2 separate regions of the Homo sapiens genome follow, and region 1 is linked to region 2. The links are contacts of gene promoters, found by promoter capture Hi-C in blood cells and fetal thymus (Javierre and others, 2016). All regions are on one chromosome and are shown on one strand. The core of a region is centred on a gene start or on the middle of the fragment in contact, and the rest is flanking DNA. Distances in the headings are between cores, read along the strand shown. Region 1 overlaps SYCP1 (synaptonemal complex protein 1). Region 2 holds the start of TSPAN2 (tetraspanin 2).

Region 1 (5,539 bases), core at 1,158-3,657, 100 kb before region 2:
CCTGCTTCAGCCTCCTGAGTAGCTGAGGCTATAGGGATGGGCCACCATACCTGGCTATGTTTTTTTAATTAAAAAAAATTTTAGAGTTGGGGTCTTGCTATGTTGCTCAGTCTAGTTTTGAACTGGCCTCAAGCAATCCTCCTGCCTTGGTCTTCCAAAGTGCTGGGATTACAGGCATAAGCCACTGTACTTGGCTTTTGACCTTACTTTTTAAAGATACTTTTACAAATTATAAAAATTACAAGATAGTATAGAATGTGAAACATTGACTAATGTGAATTACTTTACCAATATAAAAATAAGCAAGCATATTTTCTCACAATGTAATAAGGTGTTTTGTAGAGAGAGCAAAGCTCACTCAGTTATTTTTTTCGATCATGATTAGAAATATTAAGGCCCCTAAGATTGTTGATTGCTGAATCTGGAGTGTGTCTGTCTCTCTGTTTCACTCTTTCTCTTTCTTATTTTCTTCAGCAAGTTAAAGGAAAGGCAGAGAAAGTCTACCATTGTAAATTTTTGAAGAAAGACAACTTATAGTATCAAAAACATTTGAATTAAATTCTTATCCAAAATTTTTGCCTCATATACTTGCCAATAATAATGGAGGTTTCTGATTGCTAAGGACTCAAATTGCCTTAAAATTATTTGTGAAACCCTTTATTAATAATGCATATTTTATTTGATATGATAATGTATGGTTTTTTATTTTTGGATAGGCATATACAGTGAAGACACCAACAAAACCAAAACTACAGCAAAGAGAAAACTTGAATATACCCATTGAAGAAAGTAAAAAAAAGAGAAAAATGGCCTTTGAATTTGATATTAATTCAGATAGTTCAGAAACTACTGATCTTTTGGTAAAAATTTTACAAATAATATTTAGTATTTATTTATATTACTTATTTGTATACTATTTTCCTTGATATACATGTATAATATATTTACATAGTACCTACCATTGCAATACTGATATACAGTGGAGCTCTGCTAAAATGCAGATCCTTGTGCTTTTGCAGCATTTCAGAAAAATTAGGGTTCAAATAATTTCCCTGTAAATTTCAGAAAACCTGGCACTTTGAAAATACTTGATATAGCACAATGGGCATACGATATGATTAATCATTGTCTTGTTTTCTAGAAGAATGTCATAAAGGAGTTCTTACTATATTTTTAAAAAGAGAGATGGAGTGAATATTTTACTGTGCCAAATCTGTTATTTAGGCGTCCCCTCTATTTTGCATATTATACATGCTCCTTTTACATCACTGGTTGATATTTATATCAAGGTATTGGTTGACAACTATAACATTTCCATCACTCTAAAGAAGTTAATGTATTAAGGACAGCATGTTTAAGCAGGCTATTTCCTCTAGCACTTTGTATCACTAATTACTCCCATTCACATATACCACTGTTTTCTGAAGGCATAATAATGGTTTATTGAGAATAATGAAGCTTAGATTCATTTAATTTTTTTAAAAAGGTGAACCATACCAGAGTAAATGGAGCAATGCACCAAAAATTCTTAATGACAAAATCCCAGTTAAATTCATTTGTTTTATTATTCCCACTTATAACTAGAAGATCCTTCAAGCTTTTCTACTACTTTGGGACCTTCTATTTTCATTTTTTTCTGGAATAATGAGTAGTTGAAGTCTTAAAACCCTAAATATTGAAGTTAACATATAGAGTCCCTACTTCAGAACCCCTTTGTTTTATAGATAATTATCAACATCTTAACAATTAAAACTGTGAACCAGGTACTATTGTAAACACTTTATACAACGAAGATTACTTTAATTATTTCTTATAACAATTCCAGCCTTTAGAAATACAGTTGGCCTTCTGTATTCACAGGTTCTACATCTGTGTATTCAACCAACTACAGGCCAAAAAATTTGAAAAAAAAAAAAATAAATAACAATTCAGTAGAAAATAATATAAATAAGAAAGCAATACAACATAACTATTTATATAGTGTTTACATTGTATTGGGTATTATAAGTAACCTAGAGATGATTAAAGTATACAGGAGGAAGTACATAGGTTACATGCAAATATTATATCATTTTACATAAACATCCACAGATTTTGGCATGCATGGAGGGATCCTGGATCCAATCCCCCATGGATACTAAGAGATCACAGTATATACTGTTCTTTCCAGTTTACAGATGAGGAAACTGAGTCACACAAGTATATTTTTCAAGATCACATAGTTAGTAAGACATGGAACCAAAATTTGAACACAGTCTGGCTTCATAGACTATGTAAGTCATTGCACATGATAACTGCCAATTCAAAATGTAGTCCAGATATATAAAAATGTAATGAGAATTAGAAAGAAAATGAGCTTTAGAATTAAACATTCTAGGATTGTAATCCCTGTTATTATTCTAGCAGTTTGAGTTTAGGCCAATTTCTTAGCTGATCTGAGATTCAGAATGATTCAACATGATTCATTTCATTTCTAAAAGGAGCATCACAAACTTGCAACACAATAAACATATTACAGTATTATAGAATTGCACACAATTGTTCAAACTAGTCTAAAAACACATTTCACAATCAGTTTCCTGGTTATAATTATTATATGAACCTATTAGTCATTTTGTAATTTTCTTAGCTTATGTAGTTAAATTTTGAACATTCAAATTATAAAAATTAAGATTTAAAAATGGGTTGTTGAGCATGACCTCAGGAAGATGGTGGAGTAGGAAGTGCCAGGAATCCATCTCTCTACCTAGACAAAAAGTATACTGGCAGAAACTGTCTGAAGTAACTATTTTATAAGTATGCAGTCTTATTTGAATGTTTATAGCTTCCAGGGGAAAGGTTAGCTGGTAAATTGCAGTTAATTTAGGTTGATTTCAGCCTAAAATATGATAGCAGCTACCAGTCTCCCCAGCCTACAGTCCTGTGTCAGGAAGCCATGCTCATGTTCCCTGAGTGACTTGCTGGTGCCAGAGGGGGCAATAGGACTTGTCCTTCAAACATCAGAGTTCAGTGTTTCAACCCCCACTGGCTGAAGCAACTTCCAGGAATTTACATGAAGCACATCTATCTTTTTTTTTTTTTCCTTTTCTCTTTTTCCATCTTTACCCTTTGGGAAGCCAGGCATTTAAGGATTAGGATATTCAAAAGCAAAGCAAAAAGGAATTTAGCTATAGCACATGTTTAAGCAAAGAGGCTTAAAAAAGACGGGAGAAGACCATAAGCTTTTATCTCAGGCTGATCCCTGGCACAGACTTTCAACAGTAAAACAAAAGAAAACAGAACACAAACAAAAACAGAAAATCCCGGGGAAGAGGGAAAATCTTATTTCCAGAGTTACCAAAGTATAATATTCAAATGTCCAGTTTTCAACAACAAGGGCCAGGCACAATAGCTCACGCCTGTAATTTCACCACTTTGGGAGGCCAAGGTAGGAAGGTTTCTTGAGGCCAAGAGTTTGAGACTAAGTTGGGCAACAGTGAGACCCTCTCTATACAAAAATTTAAAAAATTAGCCAGGTGTGGTGGCACATGGCCTGTAGTCTAACTACTCAGGAGGCTGAGGTAGAAGGATCACTTGAGCCCAGGAGTTCAAAGTTATAGTCAGCTATGATTATGTCACTACACTCCAGCCTAGGTGACAGAGTGAGACCTTGTCTCTAAAAATTTTTTTAAACCAAAAGACCAATAGTAACAAATCATAAGGCATACAAATAAATAGGAAAATATGATCCATTCAAAGGAACAAAACAAACCAACAGAAATTATCCTTGAGGAAGCTCAGACATTGGAATTACTAGACAAAGACTTCAAAACAGCTGTCTTAAAGTAGCTCAAATTGCTAAAGGAAGACATGGACAAAGAAAAAAAAACCCTAATTTTGTGTGAATAAAATGAGAATATTGATAGAGAGTTAGAAATTATAAAAAGAACCAGAAAAAAACTCTGGAACTGAAAGTACAATAACCGAAATGAGAAACCCACTAGAGGGATTTAAAAGCAGATTTGAGTAAGCAGAAAAAAGAATTGGTGAACGTAAAGATAGACAATTGAAGTTACTGAGTCTGATAAACGGCAAAAAAAAAAAAAAAAGAAAAAGAAAAGAAAAGAAAAGTGAACAGAGCCTCAGAGTCTTGTAGCACACCATCAGCTGGGCCAATATATACATTGTAGGAATTCCAGAAGGAGAAGAGGGAGAGAGGAAGAGGTGGGGGGGTAGACAGAGAGAGAAAAAGAGAGAGAGAGGTGGAAAGAGTTATATGAAGAAATAAATGCTAAAAACTTCCCAAATTTTGATGAAAGACATGAATATACAAATTCACGAAGCTCAACAAACTCCAAAAAGCCCCCATCAAGACATTTTATAATCAAACTGTTGGGAGAAAAAATGAATCTTGAAAGCAGCAAGAGAGATGCAACTCATTACATGCAAGTTATTCTCAACAAAATTATCAGCTGATTTTTCATCAGAAATGTTAGATGCCAGAAGACAGTGAATTTATATATTCAAAGTGCTGAAAGACCAAAATTATCAACTGAGAATTTTATATCCAGCAAAACTGTCATTCAAAATGAAGAAGAAATTGAGATATTTCCAGATAAACAAAAGCCATAAAGAGTCTGTTACCACTAAACCTGCTCTTCAAAAAGTACTAAAGGGACATCTTCAGATGGAAAGGCTGCTAGACAGTGAAGCTGTATGAATAAATAAATATCTCTGGTAAACGTAAATACATGGGCAATTTATAAAAGCTAGTAGTATTGTTATTCTGGTTTGTAACTTCAGTTTTTATTTTCTATATGATTTTAAAGACAAATGCATATAAATGGTTAATTTATGTTACTAGGCGCACAATGTATAAAGATGTAGTTTGTGACATCAATAACAGAAAATGGGCTGGGCACAGTGGCTCACACCTGTAAACCCAGCATTTTGGGAGGCTGAGGCAGGTGGAAGTTTGAGACCAGCCTGGGTAACACAATGAGATCCTGTCTCTACAAAAAATATGGAAATTAGTCAGGCATTGTGGTGCACATCTGTAGACCCAGGTACTTAGGAGGCTGAGGTGTAAGGATCATTTGAGCCTGGGAGGTCAGGGATGCAGTGAGCCATAATCACACCACTGACCTCCAGCCTGGGTGACAGAATTAGATCCTGTCAAAACAAAACAAAACAAAAAACCAAAAAAAACCCCAAAAACAAAACAGGGAAGATGGAGCTGTGTAGGGGCAGAGTTTTTATAGGCTATTGAAGTTCAGTTGGTATAAATTTGAATTAGATTGTTATAGCATTAGGAAGTTAAATGTAATCTCCATGGTAACTACAATGAAATTATATAATATACACAAAAAGAAATGAGAATGGAATCAGAATGTTCAAGTACAAAAGTCACCTAAATGGAAAATAAGACAGTAATGGAGGAGACAAAACCCTATAATAATGGAGACAAAACCCTATAAGACATATTGAAAACAAATAGCAAAATTCAGAGCTATGTCCTTCCTTATAGATCATTACTTTAAATGTAAATAGATTATACTCT
Region 2 (5,333 bases), core at 1,856-4,355:
CCTCTGCTGGTGGATGGTGCGTCACCCCCTCGCTTTGCCCAGCTCCATTCTACCAGTCCTTCCAGGTTTAGCTCGAATAGCTCCTTCTTAAGGAGAACTTTTCTGGCTCCTCATCATGACTGTGATCCTTTCTCTAAACTCCTTACTTAGATCACATATAGAGAAGGTCGGATCTAACCTCACTGGTTAACACATTCAAGCACTTAAAACTGCACTGCTCCTACTTCCTTTCCTTACTGTGCTTACGGTCAACAGTGTGAAACTTGTCACTTGATTCCACACTGTCTTATTTTTGTGTTGTTCCATATCCACTGGTCTCGTTTCCTCAATGAGATGAGCAGCTTAGGGAACTGTGTTTATATTTATAAATTATTATTTGTTTAATCATTGTTTAACAGAATGGGTCTCAAATTTGAGCATGGATCAGAATTATGTGAATGGCTTGTTAAATTAGATTGCTGGATCCTACCCCCAGAGTTTCTGATTCAGCAAGTCTGGGATGAGCTGAGAATTTTGTTTGTTTGTTTGTTTGTTTTTGAGATGGAGTTTCGCTCTTGTTGCCCAGGCTGGAGTGCAATGTGGCACCATCTCAGCTCACTGCAACCTCTGCCTCCCGGGTTCAAGAGATTCTTCTGCTTCAGCCTCCCAAGTAGCTGGGATTACAGGCACCCACCACCATGCCCGGCTAATTTTTGTACTTTAGTAGAGATGAGGTTTCATCATGTTGGCCAGGCTGGTCTCGAACTCCTGACCTCAGGTGATCCGCCTGCCTTGGCCTCCTAAAGTGCTGGGATTACAGGCATGAGCCACTGTGCCCGGCCTGAGAATTTGTATTTCTGACAAATTCCCAGGATATGCTGATGCTGCTGGCCCAGGAACCACTTTTGAGAACCACTGGTTAATTGAATGTACCACAGTGCTTAAGAGAAGGTAGGCGGCCAGGCGCGGTGGCTCACGCCTGTAATCTCAGCACTTTGGGAGGCTGAGGCAGGCAGATCATGAGGTCAGAAGATGGAGACCATCCTGGCTAACACGGTAAAATCCCGTCTGTACTAAAAATACAAAAAAACTAGCCAGACGTGGCGGAGGGTGCTTGTAGTCCCAGCTATTTGGGCGGCTGAGGCAGGAGAATGGCGTGCATCTGGGAGGTGGAGCTTGCAGTGAGTGGAGATCGGGCCACTGCACTCCAGCCTGGGCTACAGAGTGAGACTCCGTCTCAAAAAAAAAAAAAAAAAAAGAGAAGGTAGGCTGAGTTTGAATACCATCCCTGCCACTCACTAGCTGTGTGATCTTAGGTGACTTAACCAATTTGAGCCTGTTTCCTCATCTGTAAAAAATGGGGATAATAATAGTATATGTATATCAGGACTCTTGTGAGGATTATGTGTAATAATGAAAGTAATATGCTTAGCACTGTCCCTGACACATTGAAAACATTCAATGAATCCTTCCAGCTATCACTGGAAAGGCTGGTACAATATCAGCCACTAAATAAGCACTGAACCCAGCTTAAGAATTCCTCCTCAGGCTTAAAACTTCATAAGGCTTTGAATTCATAAGCAGTGAGAATGAAGGTTGTCACTGTGGCGTGACATCTATAATTAACAGCTTCTGAAATTAAGCCAGATTCCTAAAAAATACAACATAAAGGGTCTTCAGAAACGCCTCTCCCTATAGTATGCTTGATGTAAATCCCCACGTGTACAAAGGCCATGTGTCTCTTTAAAGTTCAGGGGATGTCGAGGAGGTACCTCCTTCACACCTTCCACTGCTGAAGGATACTGAAGAGCTTGGAGTTGCTGAAGTCACCCAGGCATCTGGGCTAATGGATTGACAGACAAAAGAGGAGCCCATCATTCAATAATTAATTAGTTGCAATCATGGGAAGACAACGTCCCCCAGAGCAGATAGGACAGCCACCTCCTCCAACCTGGTAGTTTCAAAGCACCCAGGCCCTGGCTGCTCTCAAACCTCTTTATCCAATGTTTCCCCTCAGGGTCTAGCTGAGCAGTTACACTGGCTGACATTCTCTTAAGAAAGCCCAAGAGGAAATGTGCAGAAAAGACAATTTTCAGACCTTGTCTCACAGTCCTGCAGGCCCTGGGACAGGGTATCCAGGGATGTAGGTCTGGTCTAGCTGTATCCCTGTCTCGATAATATAGGAGACAAGGGTCAAGATCCTATCTCTCTGTGAACCATGAATCCTGGGAACGCTGTCAGTTCAATCAAACCCTGCAAAGTTGAATGAGATCATCTCTGGGAGAATTAGTATTTAGCAGAGGCTGCGGCTGGGGGTTGTGGAGAGCTGCTGCTGCCCTTTAGAAGCCCTTCCATTCCCCATCCCCTTCTCAGAAGAGAACCCACCACCTCCTCTCACCCAGGGGTACTCTTACCCTGATGCCCAGAAAAAGGACGACGCCCCCCCACCACAATTTTCACTCCTATCTCCAATTTCCTAAACAAAACCATCACAGCCAGGTACAGTGTCCACACACTCGAATGGAGCACCACCCCAGGCAGCCCCAGGGCAGGGGTTTCTCTCCCATCACCCTGGCCAGGCCCTGGTTCCAGCTGGTAGGCAGAGTGAAAAGGGGGTGTGTGCACGGGAGACTGGAGGGGAACAGGGACCCAAGTCCTCCGGAGGTGAGGAGAGGCTGGGTCCCCGCACCTGGGGTCACTAGCTGGGAGATAAAAACCAAGGCAGGTGGGGGTTCCTTCCAGGAAAGAGCCACACGGTGTCTCTCCCCTTCTCACCATTTCTCATTGATCAACCTTCTGTCTTCCCGTTCTCTCCCTTCCATCCCTCCCCTCCCTCTTTGTTTGCCTTCTCCTCGCCTCCGCGTTTGAGCACCCAGCCCTCCCCACGAGCGCGACTCGGACGCCGCAGTCAGCAGCTCGGGGACCCCGGCCCCGCGCCCGCCACCCGGCCCCCTGCCCTGACCGGCCCTCCCGGCTCCTGGTCTCACCCAGAAGAGCAGGTTGAAGCCAAGCAGCAGGTACTTGATGCACCGCAGGCCCCCGCGGAAGCGCCCCATGCTGCGGCCCGGCGGCGGGATCCCCAGTCCCCAGGCCCGCGCTACGAGCGCGGGGAGCGGCAGGCTCCGGCGGGGAGGGGGCGGAGCGGGGAGGACCGGGGCGGGGCCTCCGGGGGGCGGGGCGGGGCCCGGCGGGGAGGGGCGCGTGGACCCCAAGCGGCGTGGCTGGCGACGGGTGGGGGCGCCAGCGGGTGGAGATCGAGCAGCCCGAGGGAGCACGTTCGCTCTTCTCCCGGACCCAGGGACCACCTTCCTTCCCTCCAGTGGGCGCACCGCCGCCGGCTATCGGAGCACCTGCAGGGCGGGAGCGCCCACCGGGGACTGGGGACCCATTTAATCAGCGCCCTGTGCGGAGACCGGTTTGAGGCCCGGGCGATGCTTGAGGGATAAGCACTTGGTCTCGTGGCTATGGAAATCTAGGAAGGTGACCTCGGGTAGAAGAGCTAAGTGGGGTCGGAGGTTGCCCCGAAGCTGGCAGGACCAGTCGCGGGGCACCTGACTGAGTGTCCAGGGCTGCGGCTCCGCGGCGCGGAGCAAGCACACAAGCAGCTTCTAGGGGACCCTCCCTCCGGCCCCTCCCCCCTCCTCGGGGGACTCTTACCTTAATAGGCAAGAACTGAGAGAGGGTGCGGGAGGCGGCGCCCTGAGTCCTGTGGGCTGCCCTCAACCCAGCCGGCCAGTGGAGGGAGTCTGACTTCTCATGTCCTGCCGGGTTCCACTGATCGGAGGGCTTGGAAGGATCCCAAATTTTCGGGATCTTAATTATGATGTGGAGATGGGAGAAAGGGGAAGGGGGCGGTTTTTGTTTTGCTTTGTTTTTATTAAGTTAGGCTGTTGGCAGGAAAATCAGACTCCCACTTCCATTGACTAAGTGTCTACAATATGTGGTGTCAGACAGTATGGGGGAGACAAGAAAGCAAAATTCGGAGAGCTTATGCATAAATTCAGCAAAACTTTGAGTGCCTATTATAGGCCAGACATAGTAGCAAGCCCCAGGGACTCAACAATGAGGAGACAGCCAGGCCCAGAACCACAGTCTCTGGTGTTGGAGACAGATCTGTAAGCAAATAGGGTGAGGAGAGAAGGGCTGGGTGCTAGACAGGTGTGCCTGGCCTGACTGCCTTAACCAGAAAAGGCATTGCTAAGGAGAGGGGCCTGATCTGGTCTAGAAGACGGAGCCCAGGCGGAAAAGATCAGTCCAGGAAGACAGCATGCGCAAAAGCACAGAGCTGGAGAGAACAAGGCCTCCAAGGGAGTTCTGAGAACCGCAGTTAGCCCGAGTGAAGCCTGGTGGGGGCAGAGTGAGTCAGGAAGGCAGGAGCCAAATCACAGCTTTCAGTCGGCTGACCAATGTGCCAAACTGTCATTGGCCCCGAGTGTCCCCACGTGCAACATGGAGGTAATAGTACTCCCCTCATAGAGTTGTGAAGATAAATGAGTTAGTATTTGTGAAGTGCCTAGAACAGTGCCTGGCACAGATTAAGTACTGCATAAGGGTTAGTATTATTGTATCACACTCTTATCAGTCAACCATTCAGTTTCTACCATGTTGCCATCTTTGCCTACCTCTGTGTCTTTGGACATTTGTTTGAATATCGACTCATTTATAAAAACGAGTCAAAGACAGAAAAATGAAAGTGCTGATTCTAGTAATAAACATGTCTCCAACAATGAAATAAAGACAAAGATGGAAGTCATTAGGTATGCAGAGAGAAGTGAATCATTAGCTTCAATCAAACACTTATAGTTCTATATCTGTCACCTCTGTTTTAGTATAAAGGAAAAGAACTAAGTTAAAGAGTAGTGTCTGGTACATAGAAGGCGTTCAGTAAATCAACTGAATGAACAATGATATTATACTTTAAATATATCGTTGAATTTTACATCTCTAAGACAAAATATGTCTAGAGATTATATAGAGGGAAGAGAACCCCTATTGTAACATATACATCTATTGTTTGTTTTTTTCATGCTACGATTTTAGCACACATGTATTAGAGACAGATGGTGGTTGCCTGTCCAACATAACAGTTTCAGATCTTTAGTATAGACTTGCCCAGTCGCCCTTTCACAAAGTTGTATGTCTTAAGGGAAGCTGACCCTTGAGAGGAATAGGCGAAGGTAATCCCATTTCCCTTGTAGTTAGTTCAGGAAACAAATTGACAAGCATCCTGACTAATGGGATGGGAGTGGTGTCTACTGAGGGGCCAGATGGTCTTCTTCCTCTTGAAGCTGTTGGATCTGGATGGTATACATAGAGTTGCTATATCCATCTTCATACCAGCCTGAGGAGAGATC

The links. Contacts are between HindIII fragments. The CHiCAGO score rates a contact against its expected background, and 5 or more counts as called.
Region 1: a contact is called between a fragment that was not itself captured here and the fragment with the promoter of TSPAN2 in region 2, in 2 of 17 cell types (naive CD4 T cells and total B cells). The highest score is 6.7, in naive CD4 T cells.

Annotation. Positions count from the first base shown.
Region 1 is chr1:114,984,009-114,989,547 of GRCh38, forward strand. It overlaps SYCP1 (synaptonemal complex protein 1), which reads left to right. Exons shown (of 32, transcript NM_003176.4): 30 at 717-860. Among named protein-coding and RNA genes, the nearest start is that of TSHB, 43 kb to the right of the region's middle. The HindIII fragment of the contact is 1,624 bases long and covers 1,596-3,219 here.
Region 2 is chr1:115,086,398-115,091,730 of GRCh38, forward strand. It overlaps TSPAN2 (tetraspanin 2), which reads right to left and starts at 3,106. Exons shown (of 8, transcript NM_005725.6): 1 at 2,967-3,106. The coding sequence starts at 3,035. The HindIII fragment of the contact is 10,227 bases long and covers 1-5,333 here.